Linked DNA regions of Homo sapiens: regions 1, 3, 4, 5, 6 and 7 are each linked to region 2. The links are contacts of gene promoters, found by promoter capture Hi-C in blood cells and fetal thymus (Javierre and others, 2016). All regions are on one chromosome and are shown on one strand. Each heading gives the region's core, a stretch centred on a gene start or on the middle of the fragment in contact. The rest is flanking DNA. Distances are from core to core; before and after follow the strand shown.

Evidence for each region. The method cuts DNA at HindIII sites, captures the fragments that hold promoters and counts their contacts. A CHiCAGO score of 5 or more calls a contact.
Region 1: a fragment that was not itself captured here is called in contact with the fragment with the promoter of PENK-AS1 in region 2 in 2 of 17 cell types (naive B cells and M0 macrophages); the score reaches 6.3 in naive B cells.
Region 3: a contact is called between a fragment that was not itself captured here and the fragment with the promoter of PENK-AS1 in region 2, in 3 of 17 cell types (M1 macrophages, M0 macrophages and naive B cells). The highest score is 6.0, in M1 macrophages.
Region 4: a fragment that was not itself captured here is called in contact with the fragment with the promoter of PENK-AS1 in region 2 in 5 of 17 cell types (total B cells, M0 macrophages, M2 macrophages and 2 more); the score reaches 8.2 in total B cells.
Region 5: a contact is called between a fragment that was not itself captured here and the fragment with the promoter of PENK-AS1 in region 2, in 2 of 17 cell types (monocytes and M2 macrophages). The highest score is 6.2, in monocytes.
Region 6: a contact is called between a fragment that was not itself captured here and the fragment with the promoter of PENK-AS1 in region 2, in 3 of 17 cell types (monocytes, M1 macrophages and M0 macrophages). The highest score is 8.2, in monocytes.
Region 7: a contact is called between a fragment that was not itself captured here and the fragment with the promoter of PENK-AS1 in region 2, in 1 of 17 cell types (monocytes). The highest score is 6.7, in monocytes.

What each region holds. Positions count from the first base shown.
Region 1 is chr8:56,945,010-56,949,008 of GRCh38, forward strand. No RefSeq gene overlaps it. Among named protein-coding and RNA genes, the nearest start is that of BPNT2, 47 kb to the right of the region's middle. The HindIII fragment of the contact is 1,873 bases long and covers 479-2,351 here.
Region 2 is chr8:56,444,249-56,447,949 of GRCh38, forward strand. PENK-AS1 (PENK antisense RNA 1) reads left to right here and starts at 1,559. Exons shown (of 4, transcript NR_125813.1): 1 at 1,559-2,252. It overlaps PENK (proenkephalin), which reads right to left and starts at 2,393. Exons shown (of 4, transcript NM_001135690.3): 1 at 2,321-2,393; 2 at 2,178-2,233; 3 at 1,568-1,708. The coding sequence starts at 1,705. RefSeq lists an enhancer at 1,164-2,055. The HindIII fragment of the contact is 3,142 bases long and covers 1-2,155 here.
Region 3 is chr8:56,885,715-56,889,642 of GRCh38, forward strand. No RefSeq gene overlaps it. Among named protein-coding and RNA genes, the nearest start is that of BPNT2, 110 kb to the right of the region's middle. The HindIII fragment of the contact is 3,560 bases long and covers 1-3,510 here.
Region 4 is chr8:56,904,702-56,908,513 of GRCh38, forward strand. No RefSeq gene overlaps it. Among named protein-coding and RNA genes, the nearest start is that of BPNT2, 87 kb to the right of the region's middle. The HindIII fragment of the contact is 2,355 bases long and covers 946-3,300 here.
Region 5 is chr8:56,836,080-56,839,928 of GRCh38, forward strand. No RefSeq gene overlaps it. Among named protein-coding and RNA genes, the nearest start is that of BPNT2, 160 kb to the right of the region's middle. The HindIII fragment of the contact is 9,729 bases long and covers 1-3,849 here.
Region 6 is chr8:56,762,804-56,766,724 of GRCh38, forward strand. No RefSeq gene overlaps it. Among named protein-coding and RNA genes, the nearest start is that of LINC00968, 200 kb to the left of the region's middle. The HindIII fragment of the contact is 4,605 bases long and covers 1-3,921 here.
Region 7 is chr8:56,746,375-56,750,050 of GRCh38, forward strand. No RefSeq gene overlaps it. Among named protein-coding and RNA genes, the nearest start is that of LINC00968, 190 kb to the left of the region's middle. The HindIII fragment of the contact is 1,170 bases long and covers 1,647-2,816 here.

The DNA.
Region 1 (3,999 bases), core at 165-2,664, 500 kb after region 2:
TTGCCATGGCATTTGTGAATTGTCACGGCACTGATAGGAGTGTCTTATAGCATGTAAATGTATTATAATTCCTAGTCCTAGCTGTTTTTAGCTGGTTTCTCTGCTTCATCCTACAGCAGGGCCCTGAAAACAATCCTGCTGCTCTCCTACCTCAATGTGATGTCTTGTGATTAGACCTTAGGGGAAAACAAATTATCCTAATTTTTCAGATAAGAAAACTGAGTCACACAGGGGATAAATCATTTGTCCAAGGTCACTCAACTAGATAAGAAGCTATCCCATCCGACTACTGTGCCTGTGTTCACCACTACCCTACATTCCCTCATCTGAGAATAAACATCTCTCTGGGCTGCTGCAACTGCCACAAAGGCTTGTTGCTTTTTTAATAGCTCCTTGAGAGACAGAATAGTAAATTATAATTAGAAACCCACCAAATAGCATTTATGGTTGCTGTACCTGGTTAACTTACACTACCTAAAGCTTGTGAAGTTCTTGTTTCATTGGGTGGAAGGATACTCTTGACAAGTCATTGTTGTTTTCATAAAGTCCCAAACTGTATAGCTTCAAATTAATGCTACTTATCAATATCTCTATGGTGCACACATCACGTGAATATTTTGGAAAATTTCAAGTGCTCAGGAGGTGTATTAGTTTGTTCTCATACTGCTATGAAGAAACACCCGAGACTTAGTAATTTATAAAGGAAAGAGGTTTAATTGACTCACAGTTCAGCATGGCTGGGGAGGCCTCAGGAAACTTACAATCTTGGCCGAAGCAAAGGAGAAGTTGGCTTCTTCTTCACAGGGAGGCAGGACGGAGTGAGCGCAAGCAGGGGAAATACCAGATGCTTATAAAACCATCAGATCTCATGAAACCCACTTATTATCACAAGAACAGCATGGGGGAATTTTCCCCCTCCACACTTGGTCTCACCCTTGACATGTGGGAATTATGGAGATTAAGGGGACTACAATTCAGATGAGGTTTTGGGTAGGGACACAGCTGACCCACATCAGAGGGGGCGGGACAGCAAGCATCTTCCCTTATAGGAGGAAAAAGATGTGGCACCCTTGGCTGGTACAGTGAGTGATTGACATGTGCTGTTTTTCTTGCTATCCAGAAGTCACTATGTGAGATACTGTGAAATATATATTTAGTCTTTATCCCCATTTCCTGTCTTACAACCTTAAAATCCTTGGAATCTCCAAGCACTTTCTGTATGCTATTGTTGATAGATAGCTTCAGTGTGGGGCTGGTCACTGGAAAAGAAAGAGCTTGATTCAAGGGTTGGGACTTTCAGCCCCACCCCCAACCACCAGGGAGGGTGAGAGGGGGTGGTGCTGAAGGTCAAGTTGATTACCAGTGGCCAATAGTTTAATCAATCATGCCTGCATCATGAAGTTTCCATAAAACCCAAGAGGACTGGTTTGGATAGCTTCCAAATAGCTGAACTTGTAGAATAATTTCCTGAAGGGTGCCCTGCCCAGGGAGGGCATGAAAACTCTGTGCCCCTTCCTGCATACCTCGCCCCATGCATGTCTTCATTTGTATCCTTTATAATAAATGTGTAAGTGTTTCCCGAGTTCTATGAGCTGCTCCTGAACCCAAAGAGCCCTAGGGGCAAGGGAACCCCAATTTGAAGCTGGTTAGTCAAAATTCCAGAGACCTAAAATTGGTATCTATGGGGAGTGAGGAAGTCTTGGAGATTGAGCCCTCAACCTGTGAGATCTGCTGCTATCTCCTGGCAGATAGTGTTGGGATTAGATTGGAGGACACTAGCTGGTGTCCTGTAGAACTGACTGCTTGCTTGCTGATGCGGGAGAAATCCCCACATATTTTGGGGTCTGTGGGGTTATGATATATATTGGTTTTCACCCACAGTTCCTAGCTCATAGCTCCCATAGCCCTTGTTGCAGTCTTTTGTTATCAAGTTGGGTGTGTTAGGCCTCAGAGGCAGCCCTCTGACCCTCTTCTGCCTTCTTTCACTCTAACATTCCCCGCCTTTCTGATTGTGACTCCTGAGATTCTCCCATGGAAGACTCACTCTGTCACCCAGGCTGGAGTGCGGTGGCACAATCTCGGCTCACTGCAACCTCTGGCTCCTGGGTTCAAGTGATTCTCCCTGCCTCAGCCCCCCGAGTAGCTGGGATTACAGGTATTGCCATCATGCCCAGCTAATTTTTGTATTTTTTAGTAGAGACAGGGTTTTGCCATGTTAGCCAGGCTGGTCCTGAACTCTTGACCTCAGGTGATCTGGCCATCTCAGCCTCCCAAAGTGCTGGGATTATAGGCATGAGCCACCATGCCCAGCCCCATCCTATACTCTTGGGAAAGGAATGCTGACATCATGAAGCTTCCATAAAAACCCAAGAGGACAGGGTTTAGTGAGCTTCCATAGCTGAACACGTGGAAGTTCCTGGAGGGTGGTGCCCTGGGGAGGACACGGAAGCTTTGCATTCCTTCCCCCATACCTTGCCCTCTGGATCTCTTCATCTGTATCCTTTGCAATATCCTTTATAATAGACCAGTAAACATAAATAAGTGTTTCCCTGAGTTCTGTGAGCTGCTTCAACAAGTTAATCAAACCCAAAGAGGGGTTGTTACTGGGTAGCTAGACAGGCATCAGCAGGGCAGGAGAGGGCTCCCTCTCCCTGCAACACACACACCAGGGGTGTCAGGCACCCATCTGGTGAGGGCCAGGCAATTGTTAAGCTGTCTCTCTAAAATAAGAAATAAAATAAATAATAAAATAAGTTGCAGCCAGTGCCAGGGAAAGACAGTCTCCCAATAGACAGAAACACCTGAAACTGGTGATCAGCTTCCTGATAAAATCTCAGGAGTTGGGCAAGTGGGCTCAAGCATGTGCACCAAGAAGCAAAATGATGGAGTTTCACTGCTCTATGACTTTCCTCTAGGAATGCTAGACTGGTAAGGAGAAACACCTCAAGTGAGCAGGCATACAACTCCAGTAAACACACTGCGCCTGCAGCCCCTCCCAGGTGCTGCAGGCCATTGTGCATGTGGAAAGCTCACACCCGGGAAGAATTGTGGGAAAGGGATGCAACACCCTGAAAGCCTGCCAACATATAAGACCCCAAGTCAAAGGTCAAACAATGCACTTGATCTCTCAAGTCACCCACTTGGTCCTTTTCCAAGTGTTCTTTACTGCCTTTTGTTCCTGCTCTAAAGCTTTTTAATAAACTTTCACTCCTGCTCTAAAATTTGCCTCAGTCTCTCACTCTCTGCCTTATGCCCCTTGGTCAAATTCTTTCTCCTGAGGAGGCAAGAACTGAGGTTGCAGCAGACCTGTATGGCTACACCACCAGTAACATGGGGACCCCAACTTGAAGCTCATCAGTCAGAAGTTCTGGAGGCTCAGAATTAAGACTGGTGTGTGGGGAGGAGCAGTTAGGGACTGAGCCCTCAATCTGTGAGATCTGACACTGTCTCTGAGCAAATACTGTCAGAACTGAATTAGAGGACACCCAGTCTGTGTCCACTACTTGGTGTCTGGGGAAAAAAAACCCACACATTTTGTTACAGAAGTCTTCTGTGTTGATGATTGTTACGCTGTGAGAGTAGAGAAAAAACAGAGTTTTTTTCTACACAAGGTCATATAAGTCTTCTGTGTTGATTGCTGTGGTATAAGAGCAGTGGAGAACAGCTTGAAGGTTTTTTCAAAACAGTATGTCTTGTTTTTTTTTGCCAAATTTTACAATAATATTTATGTTAATATTTGCCCTAAACACTTTTTTTGTGGATCTAGTGTATCCCAGGTTTTGTTCATCTCTTTCTCCATTTAAACCAGAATTTTTTTCCCAAGAAGTAGACCTGGAGTGCTCGTCACATACCCAGAGAAGAACTTCTCCCCTGACTTCAATAACTAAGAAATTGTTGGAGTCAATAAACATTGTCTCTGAATGAACTAAAGATAAAAACCTTCTCTGTGCAAAAATAAATTTATTCTTTTCTGGTTGGAAACACTTTTAATTGCCTTCA
Region 2 (3,701 bases), core at 309-2,808:
AATTTAAGTAAATATGATACTACTTTGGGGTCAGTCTGTGTGATTAGAAAAATTAGACTAGAATCCATATAACCTTTATTCAGATGGCAGAGAAAGCTAGGGGAGGGGGCTGAGCCCCTGACATGTTGAGCAGGCAAAGCTCAAAATATGTGTGACTGGGCACAGGGAATTATGGGGTCAGAAAGTGGAGTCTTCTATGTGGCATGTTTTGGATTTTTCTTCCTCCTTCTGTGTCTAAAATTCTTTATCCACAAGATCTATCCTTATATTTGTAGCACTGGCTCAATTTTTAGGCATAGGTTAAAAGCTCATGACTACAGGAGAAAGAAGAAAGATGGGTGAAGGGGATTGTTTCTCCTATTGAAGATGAAACATTTTTCTCATAGTTTAAATATACAACCTTCCTATGTGTCTTCTCTTTAATGCCAAGTTAGCACAGGTCAAAGAAACAAACATTTAACCTGAAATATATACCACAGATATTTGGAAACTGTTCCTTGGTTTTCTCCCCATTTCAAACATCTACATAAGGTAAAATTTCCTCAATTCCAGGTGGAACCCAAAGCAGCTTGGATGAATACATTATTCTCTATGAGCTTTTTAAGTCACCATAAAATTTCAACAAATTTCAAAAGCAATGCAAAGGAATTGTCAGGGGAGCTGGTAAAAGTGAAGCTACCTGAGTCTCGAGGTTGGAGATTCAGACTCAGTAGAGCACCAGAGGTGATTCGACAGCCCATGGGGAACCATGATCAGAATGAAAGTTATTTTGTCCTCAGCTTTTTCTTTCCCCAACCCCCTGTAGTGCAGTGTATCTTTGGACTGTTGTCACCCATTGGACACTGGCCACTTCTCTTGTTCCTTTCTCATAGCCAAATTAAACTGTTGTTTTAGTTACTATTACAAAGGGCAGTTGAAACAGAAGTTGAATTCCAGCATCACTGGCTAGTGAGACAGTTTGAACTCTTTCCTGTCTACGGTTATTTCGCCTTCCTCTCCCCGTACCCCTTTTCCATCCCTTTGCTCTCTCCTATTTACAGGTGAGGGTAGGGAATGAGGGACCTGAGGTTAAGAGAGCTGGGGAACATAAATCTAAAGAAAGGCACCGAAATGTCACTAACAAAAAATTACATTATTTGTGGGAAAGATGGGAAGATGACTGCGTGTGGAGGGGCCCTTAGCTGGGATATGTTAGGAGTTGTGGTGACAGCCATCTTCCTTCTGACAGCCCAGGAGAGAACCCAGTGCTATCCGAGGTGCTGAACAGAGGACTTCTCGGGGTTCCCGAATTCCCAGGGTTAAAACAAACTTGGTTTGTGCGGCGACACCGCTACCCTTACCGGTCCCCAGATAGTCGCGGATCCCCGAAGCTAAGAGCCAGGGCAGGACTTCAGTCAGTGTTCCAGGAACAGCTGAGACACCCAGGTCACCACGGGCTCGCGCCGCTGCGGCTCCGACCCGGTGCGAACCGCCATACGCGCCGCGCGGTGGGCCGGAGGCAGTCCGCGTACTGTTGCGGAAACTCTGTCTCACAAGGTGCGCAACACTCGCCGCGCGCAACACTCACCAGGAAGTTGATGTCGGCCGGGCGCACTAGGCGGTAGCTGCACGTCGCGCAATCCTGGCTGCATTCGGCCCGCACGGTCGCCAGGAGCCCGGGGCCGAGCAACAGCAGCCAAGTGCAAAGTGTCAGGAACCGCGCCATGGACTGCGAGGAGAGAGGGACGCGTGCTTCGAGCCTGCCTGGGCGCAGAACGGGGTCCCTCGGCAGGACCCTCGCCGCGACAGCCTCAGCAGGGGATCGTCGAGCAAAAGCCCGCAGGAATGCTCCTTTCTGGGGCCCCGCCCTCCCGGCCGACAGCTTTTAGGTAGACGTGGAGGCGACTCAGATCGCCTCGCGGTTCCCGGGATGGCGCGGTCGCCCCCAACGCGAGGCTGCCTGGGGCACCCGGCTCTTTTCCTGGGCGTCCGCGGCCCAGGGCAAGATTCCGGAGAGAACGCCGCAGACCAGGGGCGAGAGAGCGGGAGCCGGGGGAGGCAGGACATTGACTGGGGTCACAAAGAAGAACCAGGGAACGCTGTTGGGGAACCCATGCAATGAAATGTGAAGGGAAAGAGGGCGGGCAGACGTCCCCAAACCCGCTCAGCAAAGACAAGCTTCGGGCAAATTCACTCACGTTGACGCTGTTCGGATGGAGCAGGCCAATTGGAAAAGCCGGGTTCAGACACGACTCTAGAGGGAAGAGAAGAAGGCAAGTGTGAGGAGGGCGGGCGTCGGGGAGAAGCGGGCCCGGGTGTGCTGGCGGACGTAGGGCCTCACCGTCGCGGTCCTCAGCGTCTCTGCGGGGTCACGGGCCAGGCTGCGGGGCTCTGAGCGCCTGCCTCGCCGTCCCGGGGCTTAACGGCTGCTGGAGCCACTTTATAATTAGCCCCAAACCGAAGGAGGCGCGCGCGCCCCAATCGCCGGCGGGCTGCAGCTGACGCAGGCCCTACGCCAGCCCCGCGCCGACGCCTTCGCGGGAGGGGTCGGTCCCCCAGCACCCGCGCGCCGCTCCCCCCGCCGAGCTCGGGTGGGGGCCACAGGGGGCGCTCGGTGGCTCCCCACACGGCCAGGTGACAAACCCAAGGCAGTTAGGAAGTTTGGGGAGAGTGAGATAGGATCAAGTTTCTCCGCATAAAGTCACTGAAATTGCACCGTGGGATGCGGGCTCCAGGGAGGGAAGCGAGGTGGGGGCGTTTGGAAGGATAGATGGACTGGCTTAGACTTCTGGAATGTGCTGGAGACCCAGCGGGCCGGTGAACCTGCCCCTTTCCCGCCTCCTCCCTGGGCCCCCTCGCGGGTCCCCGTGGGCACCAAGCACAGCCGTCCGGAATGTCGTCATTTATTGACCAACCTGTCCCCCACACTTGACTCCGAGTTCCTTACTGCAGCATCTAACAGCGTCAAGGTGCGCAGTTTAGGCGCTCAATTAATGGTTACAGGAACTGAACGATTGAAAGTTTCTGGGAATCTTAAAATCTCAGGACAGAATTTTCACCTTTCCAGTTAGAGACCCTTGGCCAAGCGTAGAAGCAGGTAAACCCTCAGGTTCCGGGACTGCGCGCTTTTCAGCCACTGTGGGAGAGGATCCGTGTTTAACCAGCTCCCCGGGGCTCCCAAGTCGAAGACCTACTGCCTTGAGAGCGCTGTCCAGGGTGTCCGGGGGTGTTGGATCAGTGAGAGGGGGGTGCCGGGGCGGGTGTAATGTCAGCGCGCCAGGAGTGTGGTGGGGAGGGAGGGATGAGGGACACCCTACCCGGGACGCCGGGGCTTGGAACCTCTTCTCCACCGGGAGGGGGCCGAGGGCACACTGTGGAGGCTGGTACTGTCCATTAAGACACGCTTTCCCGCTTCCTGGCTCTGCAAAAGATTGCTAAGCGGCAAGCTGCTTACATTGCCTGAGGCCTCAGTTTCCCTATTTGAAAAATAGGAACAGAGGTAATATGCCATTCATAAGGTTCTGGAGAGAATCAAATGAAATAGTGGACGAAATCTCTTAGCCTTGTGCCTGGCACTATAGCAAGCCCTCAAAACATCTTCTAACCATCCGTCATCCGTCCGTCCACCTTTCCATCTGTGACCATTGTCTGCTTACCTTATAGCTACCATCGATGTATCCAATCCACCTATGCATCTATGTCTCCTAGACCTAGGGGGAAAC
Region 3 (3,928 bases), core at 481-2,980, 440 kb after region 2:
ATATTTTTTGGATGGTTTCAAGTATGCCATGGGACTTTGGCCTAAGGCCTGAACTCCTTCTTGTTCATAACTTGCGCAGGTGTTTACCTGGGGGCCCAATCACCCCCTCATTAAAGTGTTTACCTACCACGAGATTATCATATGAGCTATTGCTGAATTGACAGTTTCTTATGCTAAGACTGCCTAAATTTCCTCTATTAGTGTGTCTTAGAATCTAGGACCAGGCTGATAGAAAGGAAAATGAAACAAGGTGTAGGAAATAAAGATCTGAAATCATAGTGGGTGAACAGGTCATTACAACATAGATGACAGTGACCTGCAAGTATTAGAAGTCAGTTACATGAAAAGGCAAAGAGACTTCTGCATTGCTCCTGAGGAGTTCTTTGCACATTTCAGGGAGGCAGAATTTAGCACATTATGAGAAAGAACTTTGCAAAAATTCTAGTTATTCAAAGAAAGCTGAAAAATGAGGCAAGAAGCTCTCTAGTAGGTGTTTTATTCCTGCTGACAGTCCCACTGCCTCTGATTTGAAACCCGATTATTATAATGACTATCTTTATCCCATAAATGGGGAGCATGTTGAATAGAAAGGCAGAGTCTCATATGATTGTCATTGCACCCCCATAAGATAGCATTGTGTATAGCCTATCATAGATGCTCCAAACTAAACAGAGCTGGTGCAAGTGACTTAAGTTGAGGCTGAACTGCTTTGCTCCAGGAAACAATGCCAGTTCCTTCCCTTGATAAAAATACTTATCCTTGGCTTATACCAGTTTGATTCTCAGTTCCAGTCTCTCTGTTATGTCTACATATCCTGATCACAGTCTGGAAGTAGTACTGAGGATTGATTGAGGAGCATGTGAACTCCACCAACAGAGACGGAGAAAGGGGATCAGGACTATGAGAAAGATAGATGCTGCGGAGGCCAGAGAGAAAGCAAATGCAGATGTTGAGGAAAGGATGGGTATTTCCATAAGTCATGGTGAATGATGTCACTTCAAATATTCATATGACATATAACTCCTATAAACGACTTTACCAGCTCAGGATACAAATATACCATCACCTCTTACATCCTCAGATTATCATTTAAATCCTCTGAACTGTTAGTAGAAAACACAGAATTCTTTTTAAGACCTCTCCTACACTAACACCACATCCAGTTGCCAAAGGGGGAAAAGGAGGGAAAGGCCCTGGGAGTCTACACTCTGCTAGTTTGGGTTGAAGAGGGACAGTTGCAGTTCCGCCTCTAAGTACAGGCTTCTGATTCTTTCCTGCCTCTTGTTGCCACGTGGTATACGTGAAAGGACTGTCCTGGTCAGTCTTGCAAAAGTGAGTCCCTTGGCCATGACGTTCCACGTAGTCCCTGATGGTGACTCACACCTGGATCTTTGTCTACGAATAGATGCTCAGCATTGTTTCCCATTGCCTTTTGTACCACTTGGTGTCTGTTACCCCATAGTCTTCCAGGTAAACCCAATACAGTTTTCCAACTTTGGGTCTCAGGGAGGGAGCATCAGCTAGCATTGTTTCCTTTCTTATCAGAAAGCACTTCCTTCCTTTTGCATCACATGACGTATTTATCATCTTGAGTGTCTCCCTCTGAAGTGGGTCCCACTGAAGAAATTCTTCAAGCAGCAAAGACATCAACCTCAAAAAATAACAAAGTTCTAAAAAGTAACAGCTGGGCCAGGTGTCCCATTAAATCTCCACCTTGATTTAAAATAAAGCTCAAGGTGAGTAAAACCCGAATGAACAAGGGCAATTTTAAGGTATCCTCCTATTGCCCTAAGGCAAATGGATGTCCCAAAAACAAACTCCGTGAATTCAACTCCAAAAGCACGGAAGTCTAAACTAGCTTGTCAGTACAGCTGTCTTTACTGTGTTATTTCTCACACTACTCCACACAACTCTCTACAATTCTTTTTTTTTCTAGTTCAAACTTTCTCATTTTATTTTCCTCAATCTATAATTTTGAAAAATTCAATCCTATAGGAAAGTTATAGGGAAAGCATGATGAAAAGTCATATACCCTTCATCTAGATTCACTAATCTCTTTCTGCACATATATGTGTGTGTGTGTGTATGTGGTGTGTGTGTGTGTGTGTGTTTATGCATGGGTATTCAGTGAACCATTTGACAATTAGTTCCAGATATCACAATATTTCAGCACACATCTCCTAAGAATAAGAATGCCCTCCCATATTACACTGTACAATGTCTCTCTCAGGAAATTAACATTGCTTCAATACCATTACAGTTCATATTCAGGTTCTTCCTTTTTTCCCACTTTTCTCTCTCTTTCCAATCAAAGAGCTTGTATTACATTTAGTTGTCGTGTTTATCCAATCTTCTCGACCTGTTATGTATTCACATGACTGATGAACAATTCCTCAAACTGTTAGGTAGATCGTATTGCTGATGTTTTTGAAGACTTCAGGCCTGCTGTTTTGTGAATGTCCCTTTGTCTGTATTTGTACAGCTTCTCCCCCATAATTAGGTTCAGATTAGACCATTGTTGGCAGTTATATTAAACATCCTCTTTAAATATCTCTTTCTCTAAAATGCCTTTCCTCGAGGCAGCTTTCACATCTCTGTGGCTCTCTCCAGGGCTTGATGATGACTTTAATGGGCCCTGGGCGTGTTTCCCTTCATGGACCTCTTTCTCCATAAAAAATATTAATAATTATATTTTACAATTGTGTTGGTATAAGGGCTAATATAATCCATCTGTATTTATTATTATATATTATTATATTCATTTATTTATCCCAATTTTAAAAGAAATGAAAATTAAAGTGTCCCATGAGCCCCTAAACGTACCAGGGGCCTGAGGCACTGAGCACAATGGGCAAGGTGGCCCTGGCTCTTCCTCCCTCGCCCCAAGGGTTCTCTGTCTGTCTCTGTCTCTCTGTCACTCTCACCAAATTCCCCAGCCCCGCCAGCTCTGTGTCTTATTCCCTGCTTCTGCTGATAGAGAATACATCCCTCTCTCAGGGGCCCAGTTCACCTTCCCTCAGCTCTCCCTTTTCTTCTCCAGGCACGCCCATCACCCTCTCTACCCGAGACTCCGCTTCTTCAGGCAGGCTTCAGGGAAGGAGCCAGTCATGTGTTCTGCCCTGAATTTACTATGAGAAATTGGATCCCACAGTCCCTGGCAGTTTTTTGCCATTTTCTTCCTCTGTCAGTTTAACTTTCATCACTATGGGGACTTCACAAGATGAAATCAGCTAACTCGTAGCACAGAAGACTGCAGTTTGAGGCAGAGAACTTTTCTTCAGTCAAGACTGAATATCTAAACAATGTTAATGAATATGAGTTTGCTGACTGATGCTGTGAGAGCCCTTTCTTTGGAATGTGTAGATGTTTAATATTCGTTACTGACACCCAGGGACAGCCTGAAGCCTCTTGCTTCTTCCTAACCTAATCTCAGCTTCCACTTGTTTAGCAATTATTATGTTCCAGGCCCCCTGCAAAGCACTGTATATCAGCTCACTTAATTTCCACACAAGCTTCTCTTACAGGGATACCATGACCCCCATTACATAGATGGAGCAGCTGAGGCTTCCACGTTTTTAAGTAACTTGCCCCAGCTCTCCTGTGATAAGAGACAGGCAGGATTCATTCCAGGTCTGCCTGACTCCCACATTCCCAAGGTCGATCTGCAGGAAGGCCATGGGCCTGGAGATGGGGTAGTGGATGAGGGAAGTGGGTGGGGAATGGGATTCTCTACTGCGTGTTCTCTCTTCCCCAGAGGGAAAGCACAATTTGTCCTGTATTTTAATCCATTTCCTTATTTATTGGGTCCTTGGAAATTCTTAGGGTAAATTTCCATAAGAAAAAAAAGTTTTTTGTGCAGCCTCATTCTATTACTTAAACACAATCATTCTCTTCTTAGTCTCAGGTTCTCTACCAGTAAATCAGTACA
Region 4 (3,812 bases), core at 873-3,372, 460 kb after region 2:
TGCTATTTTATACTGAAACTGCAGCAAATATTGTTAAAATTTGCTTTAGGCTATCTATCATCAAAATGAACTTATACCGCTAGGCTTAGATAAAATACCAAGAAATACTACTGCTAGAGGCAAACGGCAGCTAGTAGGAACCGGTCCTTTTGGAAGTTAGTCATATTGTCGGAACTACAAATAGATATTTCAGGATTCAGTAAACAATTTGGTGGATGAAAATTTGGAGAGACAATATGTGAATAGTTCATGCTGTCATTGTCGGTTCATGTTTATCTCTTGACATCCCTCAGAATTCTCTCTTTCTTTCCCAGAGAAGATAAGAAGTTCCCCATTATTCATGGCAACCAAGGGCTTGGCTCTGAATGTAACAGAGAAATGTGCAGAGAAAGCATTACTAGGCCTGGCCTCTCACTGCATTTCAGAGCTCAGCATGTGTGTGTGTGCCATTGTGGATGGCATGACCAAGTGTGGAAAGCAGAGTAACTAAAGAAAGTCAAATTCTATATTCTGACTGTGCAGTTGCTTCAAAACATTATAGAATAATCCAGAGCTAGGGCCAAACAGTACTGCCACTTAGGGGCGGAGTGTCAAGCAGGGCACTTGAGGGACGGTGATAGAATTCTAAATTTACAATTTTATAAACTCTTCTTGTTCCCTGTTTATGCACAATCATTTACTAATGACTATCTTAAAATATAGAGGCCATAACTGAACAGAGTACTCCAGACATGGTCTCTCCAGTATATAGAGCAGCAATCACTGGAGTCAGGATTTAGATCTAATTTAGGATCCTCTGTTCAGTAGACAAGTGACTTTGGTCATATTCCTCACAATCTCTAAGTCTCAGTTCCTTTATCTGTTAAAAAAAATACACAATAACACTGACTACACAATATTATTATAAAAATTACATAATATATGGCTACATTAAGTGTCTATCCAAGCTTTTTGTAAATTGTAAATTTCATATTATGTTACCTATGTTTTTATTAAAGTTGGTAACTTATTTACTCAATGAGGTAAGGCCAACAACAATGCCATTTGATATTCCATTTCAGATAACATCAAAAGGCTGTTCAATTACTAATATTCCAACCTGACTTTGTTATCATCCGCCTTAACCACATAGGTGACATAATGCATAACAAAACAGAGTTTAAACTCTGGAGTCAAACACATCAGGTTCAGGACAATGTCCCAGCTACAGGACATTGGGTGGTGCTCACCTGATCCAATCCTCAAGTTTCTCATGTAAAAGATAGTCATATCACTGGTAACAACTTGGGACCTACTAAGTGTTCAATATATATTAGATAGTATTCATAACTACCTTTCAATCTTAAAAAATAATTTGTCTACATCGTGTTGCATATCTATAGTTAATTTGGCATGTATGCTGTCTCCTAGTGGTCATGTTCTTTCCAAAATGGTCATGACCCTGTGACATGTTTGGGCATGTTGGTTACTGCAGCCTAGCCTGCCTTTTCTTTCTTTTTTTAAGCCCAGGCTGGAGTGCAGTGGTGCAATCATGGCTCACTGCAGCCTCGACCTCCTCCCACCTCAGCCTCCTAGGTAGCTGAGAGCACACCATCATGCACAGCTAATTTTTTGTATTTTCTGTAGAGATGGGGTTTCGCCATGTTGCCCAGGTTGGTTTTGAACTCCTGAGCTCAAGCAACCCTCCTGCCTTGGCCTCCCAAACTGCTAGAATTACAGGCTTGAGCCACCAAGCCCAGCCCTAGCCTACCCTTAATGAATACAACCACAGATTGGTTTAATAATCTCCTCCGAGTCCCTCTTGTCCTCCTGTTATAACTCTACAGATGTTGAAGTCCATCTGGCAGTCTTTCCTGATCACGCATTGCCCTATTTTATTGACTGCGCTTCAGAGCACTTGACTGCATCTACACATTCTCAACACCTCCCACTGCTGTGTGTTGTACTAATTTGGGTAGGTGTCTCTTGACAGTCTCTGAATTAGAATTCAAGCTCATAGAACTGAAACAATGTCATTCTTTAAATACCTCAATTCTACCTTGCCTATCATAGGATACGGAATAAATTTATCAACCAAATGAATACGTGAATGAATGAGTGTTCCAGAATTTAGTTGGGTTACCTAAATCAATATAACCAATGTTACATTTCTAATATCTTGTCCTTAGCATTTTTCAAAAGTTTCAACTCATTCTGGATTCCCTTCTGTAGTCTGTCTTTTAAGTATAGTTTGTATCATATTTTTATTCATTTTTCCCTTCTCTTTTGGTTATATGATTTTTCTTCCTACTTTTGTATGTATATTTTAAATCTAAGGTCATCTGAGAGCTTCCTGTGCAGCTAAATGTGAATTTCCTTGGTTGTCCATGTCTTTTCTTTTCAGCTGGAATCACTTGTGGTTGTAGAGATCCACCTTTAGAACTTTCCATTCCTCTCAGATAATATGTTCTGTTGAATCTGTGCCTGGAACGCATCTGGGATGGGCTGTTGTTTGTGCTGTTGGAGAAACCCCAGCTGTTAGCACTTAGGGGTCATGGTCACTACATAATGCTCTCCAGGGCAGTGAAGTCTTCCTGAGGGAAGCAGTCCCCTGGGCATAATGTGAGCCTGGAAGGCTACAGTTATCACCTGCTCTAGGCTCCTGGCTTTCTGCCTAAGGGAGAGGTCCACACCGCAGGAAGCTGGAACCACCCTCCACGAGCCTTGTGCTGGCCTGAACTCATTGCCTGCTCCTCTAGCATATCCCTCTCCCTCCTGCCAACTCTGTCTGTCTAAGTCTCCCTGACAGTATCTTTTCTCTCTCTCCGTCTATGTGTGTGTGTGTGTTGGTCTGTCTGTCGTATCCCTCCTCTGTCTACCCTAGACTGCCTACCTCTACATCTCTGTCACTGTTTTCATCCTTCTCGCTTTCAACTGTTTAATATCCATACTTTTATTTCTAGGATTCTTCAAATAATATTTTCCTAACTCTCTTTGCTCTTGTGTTTCCTTCCAGAGTCTCTAGCCATGAAATCATGCCAGCCTTTTTATGAACTCTTGAACAATCTGTTATCCTAAAGTCTAGAGTGCATGTCTGACCATGCCTACTGTTTCCTTTCTTCACTGTTACGGATTCCAACATGACTTGATTTCTCACAAGTTTAGTATAACCTTTACTCTAACAGTAAGCTCTTTCTCGTTCGTTAGAATTAAAAACAGAATAGCAACATTCCTTGTTGCTTCCCCTTCACACTAAAAGATGAAATTTTCAATAAAGAATGCCAGAGTTCTACTTTCCACAGAATGTCCTAAGAGTTGAAAAGCTTCCTCACTGTTACTTCTTGCCTCTGGGCCACTTTATATTCTGGAATAAGATCCTTCCTCTATAACTTCTACGTGGTCGGAAAGTCTGTTTTACATAATCACAATATGATCACTTGTTTCTGCTCCCTTTCTTCAGCACCTGGGTGCTATCTACCTTAAGATCATGGCTTTGTATAAACTTTATACATTTTTTCAAAAACAAGGTTACTATATTCTATTAGAGCTGTTTCCTTTGAAAGAAATCTATCTTTTGGTGTGTTATTTCAGTCATGAATTTCATACCACCAATAATTGGAGATATTCAACTTCTGGATTATGAACTACTTTAGGTCAGCAGCCATGATATATTCATTGTTGTATTTTCAGAGTCAAGAACAGTCCTGAAACATGCTTAATGTGAATCCGTTAAACTGAACTGATACTTATTTTAAAATTACAAGTTTAATTGACTCCCACTAATGCACTGTGCATATATATGCAAACACTTGAGACCTTAAGTGAATTTCAAA
Region 5 (3,849 bases), core at 353-2,852, 390 kb after region 2:
TCTGTGACTGTCTATATCGGTTAATGGAATATCAGACAATTTAAATCAACCCTGCCCTGGAAGTCAATTGAAAAACAAGAGTAAAATTTTAAAATTTTTTGTAGAAGCATTGACTATATGGCAAAAGAAGAATTACCAGGCCAAAATAAAGTGGAAAAAAATCAAACACAGAAGGATAAGGGTGCACAGATGCTTTAGCCTTGAGGACATTTCAGATGCGGGGGTGAGTGTAGGAATTAGTAGAATGTTTGCTTTGACAGTCTATGGGAGAACAGGATGGAGGGTTGGCAGAGGGTACAGAAGACTCTCCGAACAGTAAGCTAGGATTCTACAATATTATTTCCCAGGGTGAAGGTGAACCGGAGGTGGAGCAAATCATAGGAAACACAGCCAAGATCAAATCAACTGTCTCAAGCCTTCAACCTGGTTTATAGAGAAACCAAGCTCTGGGAAAAAAGCAAACGTAAATCTTCTCTGGAGAAAAATATCTTCATTTTAAACCTGAAATTATTTCTATATATTTTATTTTAATCATTTCTTACAGGATAATAATAATAATAAAGCACAAGAGGAAATTCCATGAGTGAGAACCAGCAGAAGTAACAGAAAAGATCCTTAAAATATTGAGGAATTGGAATGATCAGACTCAGACTGTAAATTAACTATGCTGATTATGTACAAGGAAATAAAAAGCAAGTTTCAAGATATGTGCAGAGAAAAGAAAGTGATAAAGAGGAACATAAAAGATTAGTAAAAGAACTAAGTGGAACTGTTAGAAAAAATCTCAATGGGCAAACTTCAGCTTCTGCCCAAGATGTAGTAACAGGAACTGGACTTACCCTCTTACCACAACAGCAAGCAAACAAAATATGTAAAAGTTCAATTGGCAGGTTTAAGAGCAGACTAGACACACCTCAAAAGAGAGTAAGTGAGCTGGGAGATAAGTGTGAACAAACTCTTCAAAGTGTGAAAAGGAGAAATGAAAAGATATGACACAGAAGAGGGTAAGACATGTATGTAAGAGGTGCATACATTTAATCATAACCCCAGAAGAAGAGACAGAGAATACAGGGCTGTGAATTTTACAATAATTCATTTTAAAATGAAACTGCATTTTGAGATAATTACAGATTCACACATAGTTGTAAGTCATAATACAGAGAGATCCCCTGTGTCCTTTACTCAGTTACCCCCAATAGCAACATCTTGCAAAATTATATTACAATATCAGAATGAGAAAATTGAAATTGACACACTAAAAAACAGTTCCATCATGCAAGGATCTCTCTTAGTGTCCTGTTATAGCCACATCTACCTTCCTTGTCTCCCCTTTCCTAACCCTCGGCAACCACTAAACTTTGTTCCACCTCTAAAATTTGTCATTTTATATGAGTATTGTATAAATGGAATCGTAGAGTGTGTGACCTTTTAGGATTGGATTTACTCATTCAGTATTACTCCCTAGAGATTCATCCAAGCTGTGTGCATCAACAGCTCATTCCGTAGTGTGGATGTACCCAAGGCTATTTAACCTTCATCCACTGGATACTTTCTAGTTTTTGGCTATTACAAATAAAGCTGCTATGGACATTCATGTTCAGGTTTTCATTTCTCTGGGGAAAATGCTTAAGAGTGCAATTGCTGAGTCTCCTAGTAGTTTCTTGTTTAGTTTTGTAAGAAACTTGAAACTATTTTCCAGATTAGCTGTAGTATTTTACATTCCCACCAAAATATATAAATGATTTCGTTTCTTTGCATCTTTTCCAGCATTTGGTGTTGTCACTGTTGCTTATTTTGTCCATTCTGACCGGTATGTGGTACTCTCTCATCCTAATCTTAGTTTGCATTTCCCTAATGGCTAATGATGCTAAATATAATTTCATGTGCTTATTTGCCAACCATATATCCTCTTTGTTGAAATCTCTCTTCAAATCTTTTTCCAATTTTCTAACCGGATTGCTTGATTTTTTTTCACTGTTGTGTCTTGAGAATTGTAGCTTCTAGATACTAGTCCTTCATCTGGTATGTGGTTTGCAAATACATTCTTCCAGACTATAGGTTGTCTTTTCATCATTTTAATAGGCCTGTTGTAAAGAAAAAAGTTTTTATTTTTATGAATTCCAGTTTATCAAAATTTCCTTTTATGGATCATGCTTTTGATGTTATGTCTAAGAACTATTGGCCTAGCTCTAGCTCTAGACTACATTCTAGAGATTTTCTCCTGTGTTTCTTTTTCTAAAAGTTTTCGTTTTTTTGTTTGTTTGTTTGTTTGTTTGTTTGAGATGGAGTTTCGCTCTTGTTGCCCAGGCTGGAGTGCAATGGCGGCATCTCGGCTCACTACCACCTCTGTCTGCCCGGGTTCAAGTGATTCTCTTCCCTCAGCCTCCAGAGTAGCTGGGATTACAGGCGCGCGCCAACATGTCCAGCTAATTTTTGTATTTTTAGGAGAGACTGGGTTTCACCACTTTGGCCAGGCTGGTCTTGAACTCCTGACCTCAGGCAATCCACCTGCCTCAGACTCCCAAAGTGCTAGGATTACAGGCGTGAGCCACTATGTCCAGCCTTTCTAAAAGTTTTCTATTTTTACATTTTACATTTAAGTCCATGATCAATTTTGAGTTAAATTTTACATAAGATGTGAGGTTTGAGTTGAGGTTATTTTTTTTTTTTTTTTTGCCTATGGAAATCCAATTTCTTCAGCATTATTTATTGAAAATATTACATTTTCCTTCCTCCGCTGAACTCCTTTTGCATCTTTGTCAAAATCAGTTTACCATACTTGTGTGAGTATATATTTTTCTCTATTCTGTTCCATTAATCTTTGTGTCTATTCCTCCACTTACATCTTGATTGCTGTAGGTACCTATTTTATTAAACCTTAATATCAGATTCCTCCTACTTCCCTCTTCTTTATCAAGACTGTTTTAGCTATTCTAAGACCTCTGCCTGTCCATATAAATTTTAGGTTAAACTTATCTATGTCTAGAAAATATCATCTTCTGGAATTTTGAAAGGAATTACACTAAATCTCTGGGTCAATTTTGGGAGAATTGACATCTTTACTATGCGGAGTCTTCCTATCCATAACACAGTATGTCTCCTCATTTGCTTAGATATTCTTTGATTTCTTTCACCAGCATTTTGCGGTTTTCAGCACACAAATCCTGTACATGTTTTATCAGATTTATAACTAAATATTTCACGTTATTTGCTGTGATTGTAAATGGTATTGTGTTTTCATTTCAGTTTCCACACGTTCATTGTTGTATGCAGAAATGTGATTGATTTTTTTGTGTTGATCTTGTATCCTGCAAACTTGTTAAACTCACTTATTAGTTCTAGAAGTGTCTATTTTTGGGAAGGGGATAGATTTCTTGGAATTTTCTGCATAGATAATCATGGCATTGGCAAATAGGAACCGTTTCATTTCTTCCTCTCCAATCTGTATGACTTTGATTTGTTTTACTTGCCTTACCGTAGTGGCCAGATTTTCAGTTTGTTGTTTAAGGGGTTAAAGCAGATATCCTTACTTTGTTCCCAATATTAGAGACAAAGCAATCATTCCATTACCATTAAATGTGATGTTAACCGTACTTTTTTTGCCAAATGTGCTTTATCAAGTTGATGAGGAGCCCTCTATTCCTAGGTTACTAAGAGTTTTTATTATTAATGGATATTAAAATTTGTCAAATGTTTTCTCTTTGTCAAATGATATGATTGTATGATTTTTTCTTCTTTAGCTTGTTGATGTGGTAGATTTCACTGATTGACTTTTGAATGTCAGAGTAGCCTTGTATAAAATCCAGTCCACTTGCCATGGTATATAATTCTTTTATGCACTGCTGAGTT
Region 6 (3,921 bases), core at 771-3,270, 320 kb after region 2:
TTGCCATCTTTATGTCCATGAGTACCCAATGTTTAGCTCCCAGGCATAAATGAGAACATGTGATATTTGATTTTCTGTTTCTGTGCTAATTCACTTAGCATAATGACTTCCAGCCACATCCATGCTGCTGCAAAGGACGTGATTTCATTCATTTTTATGGCTGTATAGTATTCAATGGTGTATATGTACCATATTTTCTTTATCCAGTTCACTATTGATTCCATGTCTTTACTATGGTGAATAGTGCTGGAATGAAGTGTGTCTTTTTGGTAGAAGAATTTATATTCCTTTGGGTGTTGATGTGGTTTGGCTGTGTCCCCACCCAAATCTCATCTTGAATTGTAGTTCCCATAATCTCCACGTGTAGTTGGAGGGACCTGGTGGGAGGTAATTGAATCATGGGAGCGGTTCCTCCATGTTATTATTGTAATAGTAAGTTCTCACGAGATCTGATGGTTTTATAAGGAGCTTCCCACTTTGCTGGGCTCTCATTCTTCTTCCTGCTGCTATGTGAAGAAGGATGTGTTTGCCTCCTCTTCCACCATAATATAAGTTTCCTGAGGCCTCCCCAGCCCTGGGGAACTATGAGCCAATTAAATCTCTTTCCTTTATAATATACGCAGTCTTGGGCAGTTCTTTATATCAGCATGAGAACGGGCTAATACAGGTGTATACCCAGTAATGGGACTGAGGGGTCAAATTGTAGCTCTGTTTTAAATTATTTGAGAAATCTTCAATCTGCTTTCTATAGTGGCTGAACTAATTTACATTCCCACCAACAGTGTATAAGCATTTCCTTTTCTCTGCAGCCTCACTAGCATCTGTTATGAAAAACATCCATATTTTTATTACAGCAGGAATAGACTTCAGCCCTTTTATTTTTTAATAGACTTTATTTATTTATTTATTTATTTATTTATTATTGTTATTTTTTTTTGAGACGGAGTCTCACTGTCGCCCAGGCTGGAGTGCAGTGGCACCTGGCCAATAGACTTTATTTTTTACAGGAGCATTATGTTTCCAGAAAACTTGAGCAGAAAGCACAGAGATTTTTCCATACATTTTCTGCCCCCAAATATACACAGTCCTGCCTGCTATCAAAATCCCCTCTAGAGTGATGCAGTTGTTACATCCCATGAACCTACATTAACACATCATGATCACCTAGAATCCACAGTTTACAACGCCTTTGGTGCTGTACATTCTATTGGTTTGGACAAACGTATAATGACATGCTTTCACCATTGTAGAATTATACATAATATTTTCGCTGCCCTAAAAATCCTCTGTGCTCTGCCTATTTAACCCTCCCTCCCCTCAACCCTTGACAACCTCTGATCCTTTTACTATCATTTTAGTTTTGACTTTTCCACAATGTCATGTAGTTGAAATCAAATGGTATGTGGCCTTTTCAGATTGGCTTCTTTCTCTTAATAATTATGCATTTAAGTTCCCTCCATGTCTTTTAGTGGCTATTAGCTCATTTTGTTTTATCACCAAATACTATTCTATTGTCTGGATGTAGATGGCTCCCAAGTTTTGGAAATTATGAATAAAGCTGCTGTAAACATTCATGTGCAGGTTTTTGTGTGGATATAAGTATTCAATTCATGTGGGTAAATACCAAGGCAATCAATTTGTGGATAACATATTAAGAGTATGTTTAACTTTGTCAGAAACTGCCAAACTGTCTTTCAAAGCTGCTGTATCATTTTGTATTCCCACAAATACAAAATTGTCATTTTAATTGTCATTCTGTCATTTAAAGCTATCCTGTTTGTGGCATTTTGTTATGGCAGCCCATAACAGAAGACTTCTTTTTTCCCAGTCTTGGATGCTAGAATTTGCTCCACATCTTCACCACTATTTGGTGTTGTCAGTGTTCTAGATGTTGGCCACTCTCATGGGGATGTAGTAATATTTCATTATTGCTTTAATTTGCATTTCCTTAATGACATACGATGTAGAACATCCTTGCATATGTTTATTGTCCATCTGTAAATATTCTTTGGTGATGTCTCTGTTCAAGTATTGTGCCGAGTTTTTAATAAGGATTTTGTTTTCTTATTACTGAGCTTTAAGTGTTCTTTGTACATTTTAGATAACAGTGCCTTTTTATGTAATTTGTAAATATTTTATATAATTATGTAAATATTTGTGAAATGTAAATTTTGCAAATTTTGCAAATATTTTCTCCTTTTCTGTAAATTATCTTTCCATTCTCTAGACAGTGTCTTTCACAGAGCAACAGTTTTTAACTTTAATACAGACCAGTTTATCAATTTTTTTCTTTCATGGATCATGCCCTGGTGTTGTATCTAGTAAGTCATCATCATGCCAAAGATCATCTAGGCTTTTTTTGTGTTATCTTTTAAGAGATTTATAGTTTTGTGTTGTGTTCTAAATTTAGGGCTATGATCCATTTCGAGCTTGTGATGAGTGTAAGGTCTATGTCTAGATTCTTTCTTTCTTTCTTTCTTTTACATTTGGAAATCAGGTTGTTTCAGCGCTATTTATTGACAAGGATACCCTTTCTCCTTTTCTCCATTGTATTGCCGTTGCTCTGTTGTCTAAGAGCAGTTGACTATATTAATAGGGGTCTATTTCTGGGCTCTTTATTCTGTTCCATAGGTTTATATATCTTTTCTTCTGCCAGTACCACACTCTCTAATTATGGTAGCTTTATGCAAGTCTTGAAGACAAATAATGTCCGTCCTCCAACTTTGTTCTTCTCCTTCAATATTATACTGGCTATTTTCTATCTTTTGCCTCTCTATATAAACTTCAGAATCAGTTTGTTGATATATACAAAATGACTTGCTAAAATTTTGATTGGAATTTTGTTGTATCTAGATGAAGTTGGGAAGATCTGCCATCTTGTCAACATTGAGTCTTCCTATTGATTATATGGAATACCTCTTCATTTATTCCATTCTGCTTTGATTGCTTTAATCAGAGTTTTTAGTTTTCCATATACAGATCTTGTACATATTTTGTTAGAGTTATACCTAAGTATTTCATTTTTGAGGGGAGCTAATGAAAATTGTGCTGTAATTTTAATTTCAAAGTTCACTAGTTCATTGCTGATTTAAGGAAAGTCACTGACAATTGTATATTAATCTGGTATCTTGCAACATTGCTATAATTTATTATTAGTTCCGGGAGGGTTTTTTCCTAATCCCTTGGGATTTTCTGAATAGACCATCATGTTATCTATGAACAAAGTTTTCTTTCTTTCTTCCCAATCTGTAATCTTTTATTTCCTTTTCCTTTTTATTGCATTAGCTAAGGCTTCCAGTATAATGCTGAAAAGCAAGGGTAAGAGGGGACATCCTTGCCTTTGTTCCTGATCTTAACAGGAAAGCTACTATTTTCTCACCAGTAAGTAATGTTAGCTGATTTATAGATATTATTAATCAAGTTGAAAAAGTTCCCTCTATTCCTGCTTTACTGAGAATTTTAGCATACATAGGTGTCAGATTTCATGAAATGCATTTTCTGCATCTATTGATATGATTGTTTGACTTTTTTCATTAGTCTTTTAATGTAATGGGTTATATTAATTGATTTTTGAATGTTGAAACCGACCTGCCTACCTGAAATGAATCCCACTTGCTTTTAATGTGTTATTCTTCTTATAAGTTGTTGGATTTGATTTGCTGATATTTTGTTGAGTGTTTTATGAGAGATATTAGTCTTTTATTACAATATCATTGCCTGATTTTAATATTAGGGTAATGCTGGTTTCATAGAATGAGTTAGGAAGTAGTCCTTCTGTTTCTATCTTCTGGAAGAGATTGTAGAGAACTGGTATAATCTCTCCCTCAAATATTTTGTAGAATTCATCGGTAAACCCAGCTCGGCTGGTACTTTAGTTTTAGAAGGTTATTAATTATTTATTCAATTTTTAAAATTGATATA
Region 7 (3,676 bases), core at 982-3,481, 300 kb after region 2:
AATATCAATATAATGCTCCATTTTTTTAAAAAAAGGATTGCGAGTTAGCCGATGGATGCGAGTTATAAATTCTCCTGCAGATTTATTTACATTCTGAGTGTCTCCACAGTTCTGTGTGCCATAATTCCATATTTATACTCCACATGTCTTTGGCACATCAGATAAATATATTTTATTGTGTTATTCTGCTTCTGACATATGACTATTTCTTTATTCCTCTCTAAAACCTCTTTTTTTTTTTCCTGATTCTGGTTTCTTACGTTTGAACTACCTGTACTCTTCTCAAAAATACTCTTAGTATTTCATAACTGTCATTTTATGAGTCATCATAGTGCATGCATGAGATGTTATAAAATTTTATATTACCTGCTTCTGGTAGAAAAAATAGAGCCAAGGAGAGGTTGTGTTAGGAATTACCATAGAGACAATGCAGCCAAGATTTCAGGGTGCTTTTACCTGACCAAAAAGTGTGCTCACATCTCCCCGTCAGCAGACCTTCCAAAGTTCTTGATTGAGTCATTTTATAAACCTTGATTCTTTATAAGATTTTATACTAACTCACACAGGTGGATATTTAAGATTTATGGAAGAACTATGACACAACTCTATGAAATGAAAGTAAACATATCAATAAAACATGAAAAAAGTTTTATTTCACAATACATAAATAACGGTTGATTTTAAACCAAACTGTACCATGTATGTAAATCGAGTCAATTATTTAGTTGTCATATGCTGTATTTCTTACAGGTTCCATCTGATGCATTGATTCCAAGGGAGGGGATTTCTAGCTCAGATTGAAGTGTTGAAGGGGCACAGCTAACAGGGACAGGTAGAGGTCCTATTTTGTAGCAGAGTATGATTATTCCACTTACTCAGGGTGTATTATAAATTAAAGGAATTCGAAAATAATTTTCCTAAAACATGTTTATTCACTTTGCATATTTTTCTTTCCTATTATTTTCCCACTTAAATTTACACAGACTGGTCTACATGTTCCAACAGTACTCCATGGTGCAGACATGCACACCCTTTTAGTACTTCTCTTTGCAGCAAAGCCTCTTAACCTGTGGCCCCTGGGCCCTGAGTGGCTCAAGGATGGTTTTCAGCAGCTCTAGTCACTCCCTGGAGTTGTGTGGAAAATTTTGTGGGTAGCACATATGTGCATTCTTCTGCACAGAGTAACTTTCATTAGAAGACCTGAAATACATTCCTCCAAAATAAAGAACACCTATTTATCTGTTCCTTTCATTTAAACATCTGAGGACACACAGATCTCATTTATGAGCCCTGATTCCTGCAACATACACAAAACAGATTTCTATGAGAAAAATCAATGATAGCAGTGATTAAATCAAACACATTTTTGTTTAAATGCTAGATTTATTTGAGATATAATTGATGAAATAGCTATAACTACAGTCCCATTTCACTTGAGGTTCTTGAAGTGAAGAACTCCATAATTTTACCATGAATACCCAGTGATTTTAAATGCCCAATAGACAATAGAAGTGGGTAGAGCAAAAGGAAAATAAGAATTTTAGGGAGCAAAATATTGGGTACCTTAGGCCAGGGGTCCCCAATCCCTGGGCCATGGACCAGTACCAGGTCACACAGCAGGAGGTGAGTGGCAGGTAAGCCAGTGAAGCTTCATCTGTATTTACAGCCACTCCCTACTGTTCGCATTACTGCCTGAGCTACACCGCCTGTCAGATCAGCAGTGGCAATAGATTCTCATAGGAGTGTGAACCTTACTGTGAAACTGCGCATGCGAGGGATCTAGTTTGCATGCTTCTTATGAGAATCTAATGCCTGACGATCTGTCATTGTGTCTCATCTCCCCCAGACAGGACTGTCTGGTTGCAGGAAAACAGGCTTAGAGGTCCCATTGATTCTACCTTATGGTGAGTTGTATAATTAATTCATTACATATTACAATGTAATAATAATAGAAATAAAGTGCACAATAAATGTAATGTGCTTGAATCATCCCCAAAGCATCCCCCTCTCCCTACCCCCAGTCTGTGGAAAAGTTGTCTTCCACGAAACCAGTCCCTGGTGCCAAAAAGGTTAGGGACTGCTGCCTTGGATGCATTGACCTTTGCACTCTCCATGTGTGCTCTAATTTAATGGGGATGTCCTAGTGCAAAGGCAGCCAACTGCTCTTCAGAAGGTGGAGGATGCTTTCTGCCTCCCTCGGCCCCTGTAGGTGTCTAGTTTGGGATGTTTAATACAGAGACTCTTTCCCAGGGCTTGGTTATTCGGTGATTATGAAAGTGAGCACAAATATTATATCAACACTCTGCAGAGTGTTAAGAATATTCACAAGTTTTTATTAAAAATATAGGACATAAGAACAGTGGCTCTAACTCTGGAGATCAGAATTACTTCATTTAGTGTGTCTGTAAAGCTGCTATACTTGTTTTCTACAGGAAAGACATGATGCCTTCTTTTTCTTTCAATTTTGCTAACATTGTTATAACAGTTAATAGATTACACCATTTAATTCTTACAACACCCCTATCTGGTAGATGTGATTGTGTAAGTGTGGAACAAAGGTGGAAACAGATTAGTGAACTTGAGTCACGTGTGCAAGATCAAGGTAGGAGCCACAGCCACAGCATGTGGCCTTGGAACTACACCTGATGGTTACAACACATCTCCAGTGGTACAGATTTGGGTTGTAGTTCTGTCACAGAATTTTTTGGAGGCTTCCAATCTTGCCTTTCAACTGAGGCTCCAGTCTCTGACCTCTTCAGTCATGTTCTCAAACTTGCACACATAGGCAATGCTGTGGAAATGAGCTCCTGAAAGAAAGCTTAATCAAAGAATGGAATTTTACCACTAACTTTATCATCTTAGGCAAAATTTGTGATGTGTGTTTGGTTTTGTCACCTGGAAGTTGAGGGAAGTATCTAGGGGCTCTTCCCATTCTTCCCATGATCAATGTTGAACAAAGTATGAAGAGAGGAATGCATATCTGGCTCTCTTTCCCTCATCCCACTAGATTACTCTGTCTTCACAAGGTATATTTCTTAAATTAACATTTTAGTTTTAGTTCTGTGTACAGTCATGTGTCATTAACAACTGGGATACTTTCTGAAAAATTTATCATCAGGAGATTTCATCATTGTGCAAACATCACAGAGTGCACTTCCACAAACCCAGATGGTACACCTACCACACACCTGAGCTATACAGTACAGCTTATTGCTCCTAGGCTACACACCTGTACAGCATGTTACTCTACTGAATATTGTAGGCAATTATAACACAATGGTGAGTATTTGTGTATCTAAGCATAAAAAAGTACAGTAAAAATATGTCATTATATTCTTATGGAACCATCATCATGTAAGTGTGGTTCTTTGTGGACTGAAACGTGTTATGTGGCACATAACTGTACATGCATCCCATTGTATTAAGTTCTATGACTTTATGTTACAGAATAGCTGATTGCCTGTTCTTACGGAAGCTTTTTGTCCTCAGGGAATACAGACATTTACAGAGCAGAGAAGGGATTCCTACCTTTCCTTCCCCTCTCCGTGCTTAGAAAGTGTCATGTTTTTCTGGGTGAAGAAGATACATTTTACTCATGTTAGACATAGATTTTTAACCTCAATCATCAAATGACCATTTTAAGGTCTCATATTTCTAATTGAATTGATTTTATTGG